Regions from separate parts of the Homo sapiens genome. Here region 1 is linked to region 2. The links are contacts of gene promoters, found by promoter capture Hi-C in human tissues and cell types (Jung and others, 2019). All regions are on one chromosome and are shown on one strand. Each heading gives the region's core, a stretch centred on a gene start or on the middle of the fragment in contact. The rest is flanking DNA. Distances are from core to core; before and after follow the strand shown.

Region 1 (2,700 bases), core at 55-2,554, 170 kb after region 2:
GCCCCATCTCGGCCTCGTTCCCTGGCCTTGCCCAGGCAGTTTTGAGTAGCATAATACAAAGCTGTGCCCAGGTTGTAGAAGGTTCCCACTCCTGGCAGCAGCTGGACTACATTGTGCACAGCTTGCTCCTTCTCATTCTCACAGTCCTCTGTCGGGAGGGAGCGCCCGACCCTTCCTGTGCTTTGCTGCTCCCTGGCTAACAGCTGCAGAGCAGAGGCCAGGGCTTCCACTGACACGTTCCTCTCTGTGCTTCTGCCTTTCTGGAGCCCTCGAAGATGCTGGATGAGGACCTGTGTAGCATTCACACCACCCTGGCGGTAGAGCTGTAGCTGTAGAGCCCAAACATCAGCCTGACAACCAGCTTCCTCCAGGGCATTCCTTAGAGCCAGGCTTACCAAGAACTTGGGTAGAGGGGCCATGTGGCTGAAACCAGGCAGTGACTTTGGGTGCAGAAATTGGCAGGACAAGGGGTCTGAGGAGGGTGTCTGGGATTCCAAGGACAAGGGAAAGTGCATCAAGACATTTGTCTGCTTTCCATATGAAGTGGCATCCACAGGGTGCAGCAGGAGGTAGCAAAGTAGCAGCTCAACTGGTATCATGATGAGTCTGAGGCCACGCATGTCTGGAGCAGAGTACCCTAGAAAGGGGAGAAATCCGAAACATACAAACCATTTCCCTAAGGGCGATGGTGAGCCCAAGACTCAGTTAGGGGGACACCTCATACATCACCTGCTTCCAAGCTTTTGTACTTTCTTTTTAGAGACAGGGTCTTGCTCTGTTGCCCAGACTAGAGTGCAGTGATGGGATCACAAATCACTGCTGCCTTGAATTCCTGGGCTCGAGGGATCCTCCTGCCTCAGCCTCCCAAGCAGCTGGGACTACAGGTGCGTGACACCATGCCCAGCTAATTTTTAAATTTTTTGTAGAGACGTGGTTTTGCCATCTGGCCCAGCCTAGTTCTGAACTTTGGGCTCAAGTGATCCTTCCACCTCCGCCTCCCAAAGTGATAGGCTTCCAGATGTGAGCCACCGCGCCTGGCCCCAAGCTTCTGTTCTTTTTAGGTAAAGGCCTAGGAAATAGGAAATGCACCCCAGTTGCTCCCACTTGGTCTCCCCCATTTACAGGTCACCAGGGACTTCTGTTTTATTTCCACCCATATATAGGGACCCCAAATTACCACACAGTCCAGTCATTGAGAAGTGAGACTGCCTTGGTAGGTTTGATCGCTTCCTGATCCTGTTCTGCCTAGTTCTGTGTCCCATGAGGAAAGGAGATATTTGCTTTCCCCTATGATCAGTGAAGGATGTAATCTCTGCAAATATTTGCCCATTTATACTGGCTGCTCAAACCTTGTGCCCCTTGTCACACACTCAACCTCTATGCCTACAGTCCTGTTCTTTGGCATTTCCTGTATGTCCCTGCCACATTCCCACTCTAAGCTCATGATAGGAGCCAGGGAAATTCAGAATTAGGAAAGATGAGATGTTTGTGATACTCTCATTTCTCTTCATTTTAAAAATTAAATTAGCGGCTGAGCATGGTGGCTCACGCCTGTAATCCCAGCACTTTGGGAGGCCAAGGCGGGCGGATCACAAGGTCAGGAGTTCGAGACCAGCCTGGCCAATATGGTGAAACCCTGTCTCTACTAAAAAAAAAAAAATATATATATATATATATATATATATACACCCAGGCGTGGTGGTGGGCGTCTGTAGTCCCAGCTACTCAGGAGGCTGAGGCAGGAGAATTGCTTGAACCCGGGAGGTGGAGGTTGCAGTAAGCCAAGATCGCACTACTGCACTCCAGCCTGGGTGACAGAGTGAGACTCCGTCTTAAAAAAAAAAAAGGAGGGGAGCTGACACCTACTAAGTGGAGAGGGGCAAGGCTAACACTGGTCACATATGTGTTTAAGGGAAGAGGTGAAATAAAGAGCATTCATCTGTCCTAAGTGGTCTCCAACATTTCTAACTACTTACTGTGTGCCATCCTTGAATACAGTCCTGGGAAAGGAGACTCATTACTTATGTGATATTGAATAGCTGAAATGAGCCGGGATCAATTCCTGGATCATTTTCCTCACAAAGCACTTCAGAATAGCTGTGGAACATTTGATAGATTATATTGTCACTGTCCATGGACAATTTAAATGATCTTGAGAGCTTCTTCAACTTTTTGCCTAATTCTTCAATATGCTCCCAAGACTCATACCTGCAGTTCTTGGTGATGTGGACACCCAAAACTTTGAACTGTGACACCAAGCATCATGGGAGATGGTTTCTCAGCAAACTCAATCACCATCTGAGCTACCTGGTAGGCCAGCTACCCCAGTGGGTATATTTGCCACCATCCATACATTTCCCAGGATGGGCAGCTGGGTGCTGGGTTTATTCACACTTCCCTAAGGGACTACTAGATTCGTCACAATGATGTTGGTATTGCCTTCCTCCCCATTGAACTTTTTGACTCTCACGGATGAGGGTTTCAGTGGTATCCTTTCCTCGCATCTGAAACTGCAGAACATGGGCCTCAGTTGGGCAGCCCACCTCCTCCAAGGGCACCCTCAGAGCTAAGTTGGACAGGTACTCAGGCAGAGGGGCTAGGGAGGGGGCTGTGTGTAAGAGATCTTGGCAGATCCTGGGATCTGGGAGAGGAATCTGGCTCTCCATGTTCTCCAAATAATGGAGAGCATGTTTGATGGAT
Region 2 (2,761 bases), core at 91-2,590:
AGCATGGAAGCTGAACCAGGTCACAACTGTCAATTCCCCCAAGGCCGGAGGCTAAGCCCCTAGCCTGATCTCCCTGCAAAAGGTCAAAGGTAGAAGCCTGGGAATAAGAGCCTCTCACAGGCGTAGAGACATGCCATAGAAATAGCAGCTATTTGTCAGGATTCTCACACCCAGAGAGACCCCAAGGGCAGGGCCAGGCTCACAACCAGCATCAGTAGGAAGTTCTCCTAAGCCACTAAGCACACTTCTGACGAGCTGCAAAGCCGGCAGGAAGAACTGGGGAGCTGAAAGAAAGCCATAAAGAGAATCCCTCTCTGAGGGTAGTGAGAAAAAGAGAGGCAGACCATTTCCAGAGAAAACCAGGCCTAGAGACAAAGACGACACCAGGAAGAGGTTTGGTAGAAAAGACAGGTAAGGATTCTTGAACCTTTTGTTCACCACCTTATGATCTCCAGTTATGGGGTTTGGGTGTGAGGGGCTAGAGATAGGAAGCTCACCCTAACCTCTCGACCCCAAACCCAGGGTACTGCAAAGCTAGGTTGCAAGGTGACTTCATTGTAAAATCGAGGAAAGGTTTCGGAAGGGGCCGCTACCCAGGAACTCCTATACCCCGGCTCCCTGAGAGATTCTGTTGCCCCTTAGATGAAGGTGGGGGATGAGCGGCGGAGACAGGTGATCCCTGGGTGGAGACCTTTTTCAGGCTGATGAGCAGCCAACGGCTTGCTCTGTGACTGTTTACCCTCCTGCTTTCCATTCTCTCTCTCTGAACATACACAAAGCACCGGAGAGGCCTCAGCCCCGCTGGTACCTGGCTCCGTGGGGAGCTCTGGCGGGCACGCTCCGGGTTGCGGGGGAGCCCATTGGGCACCCGGTCCACACCCGGCCGGCCGCCTCTCCCAGAAAAGCCAGGAGGGCGATGGCTGAGGGGAAGGTGGGCTAATGGCACCGGGGCCCGCCGGGCAGTAGAGAAAAACAAGGGGCAGAGGGCGCAGCAGTGGGGGCGGGGGCTGGGCTCAGAGGCTGGGGGTGCGGGGAGAGGGAGGCTGGGGGAGGGGCGCGGGAGCGCAGGAGGGCGCGCGGGGGGCTGCTTGGGAGGCCGCGGGGGAGGGGCTGGGGCGCCTGGAGGGTAGGCAGGATCCCGGGGCTGCAGGGCCGCGGTCCCTTTGTCCCGCCCCCGGTCCCCGCGCGGCCCGGCCCGGCCCGCGTACCTTCTTGTAGTTCTTGCCGAGCCACAGCCGCACGTTGTCGAACTGGGTCACGGTGTCCGCGGCCTCGTAGTACTTCACGTTGGGGCCGCCGTCCTTCTTCCGCACCGCCATCTTCTCCGGCTCGGGCCCCGCCGCCGCCCGCCCCACTCAGCTCAGCTCCCGCCTCCTCCGCCTCCTCCTCCGCCCGCCTCCCGCCGCCTCCCGCCGCCGCGGCCGCCGCCTCCCGCCGCCTGGGCCGGCCCCGGTCCGCGCTGCGCCCCCTGCCGGCAGGCCGGGCGCGGCGGCGGAGCTCCAGGCGCGGGCCGACCCTGGCGGCCTCCCCGGCAGCGGAGGCGGGAGCCTCCGGGGAGAAGGACGCTTCCTGGAGGGGGCGCCATTCTCCTGAGATCGCTCTTACCAGACGCGAAGCCCTTTCCCTCTTTTTGCCTCAGCTCGGGAGTGTCACCTCGCTATCCCACTCCAGGCGGCCGCCAGTCGCTGGAGCAGCCCCAACCCGTAGACCCGAGTGGTCCTCACCTTGCGCATTCCTAACCCGACGAAGCCCCTCGTCCCCCAAAACCCCAAACCCCTTTCCCCAAGAAGTTCCTTCCTTCCATCCATTCACAGCAGCTCCCCATTTAAACTTTTCAGAGTCTCCCTCACTCCTCGCGCCTTGTCCACCCAGCACTCCCCTCACTTGTTAACCCAAATGTCCCCTAGTCGCCACCCTGGCGGCCCAGTGCCTTCCCTCAACTGCTTCCTCCGCAGGCCTCGCTGTCGCCTCCTAAGTAGGTGTGAGCTCCTACTCGAGACCCCGACTCTTCGCTAGGCAGGAGACCCTCCCTCCCTGGGTCACCCAGTCCATCCGACTCTTTTTCTTTGGGTGGCGTAGATAGGAGGTAAGGAACCGAGGGGTGGGGAGTCCTCAGGTGTGTGTGTGTCGGGGCCGGTACCCTGCTTCCGGTTCCCGCACGCATTCCCGGATTGCAGTGCGGACCCCTTCTGTAAGCGCGCGATAAAGCGCGGTTTTGGAAGTCACGGTGGCCGAGTGGTTAAGGCGTTGGACTCGAAATCCAATGGGGTTTCCCCGCACAGGTTCGAATCCTGTTCGTGACGGGTTTTTTTTTTTTTTCTTTCTTCTTCTTATTATTAAAAGGGAGTCTCGCTCTGTTGCTCAGGCTGGAGTGCAGTGGCGCGATCTCGGCTCACCGCAACCTCCGCTTCCCGGGTTCAAGCAATTCTCCTGCCTTAGCTTCCCGAGTAGCTGGGACCACAGGCATGCGTCACCATACCTGGCTAATTTTTGTATTTTTAGTAGAGACAGGTTCACCATATTGGCCAGGCTGGTCTCAAACTCCTGACCTCAGGTTATCTGCCCGCCTCGGCCTCCCAAAATGCTGGGATTACAGGCGTCGACTTTTTTAACCCCTTTCACAGCACATAAAGGTAACCCCAGTTCTCACACGTTTCTTTCGTGCACTTTCTCTCTCCAAAAGGGAAGCCGCCAAAAGGTCTTAACCCCTGGATTTGGGAGGATGGGAGTGATCTTGGGAAGTTTAATTATGCACGACTGT

The links. Contacts are between HindIII fragments. The study calls those that stand out against the background at their distance.
Region 1: the fragment with the promoter of APOF here is called in contact with the fragment with the promoter of SMARCC2 in region 2 in 1 of the 25 tissues and cell types used here (liver).

What each region holds. Positions count from the first base shown.
Region 1 is chr12:56,361,553-56,364,252 of GRCh38, forward strand. APOF (apolipoprotein F) reads right to left here and starts at 1,305. Exons shown (of 2, transcript NM_001638.4): 1 at 1,178-1,305; 2 at 1-637. The coding sequence starts at 1,193. The HindIII fragment of the contact is 13,203 bases long and covers 893-2,700 here.
Region 2 is chr12:56,188,143-56,190,903 of GRCh38, forward strand. It overlaps SMARCC2 (SWI/SNF related BAF chromatin remodeling complex subunit C2), which reads right to left and starts at 1,341. Exons shown (of 29, transcript NM_001330288.2): 1 at 1,209-1,341. The coding sequence starts at 1,319. TRS-CGA4-1 (tRNA-Ser (anticodon CGA) 4-1) reads left to right here and starts at 2,222; the gene lies at 2,222-2,303. LOC107984468 (a long non-coding RNA gene) reads left to right here and starts at 2,550. Exons shown (of 2, transcript XR_007063330.1): 1 at 2,550-2,761. RefSeq lists silencers at 1,078-1,297, 1,368-1,647 and an enhancer at 1,888-1,987. The HindIII fragment of the contact is 6,976 bases long and covers 1-2,761 here.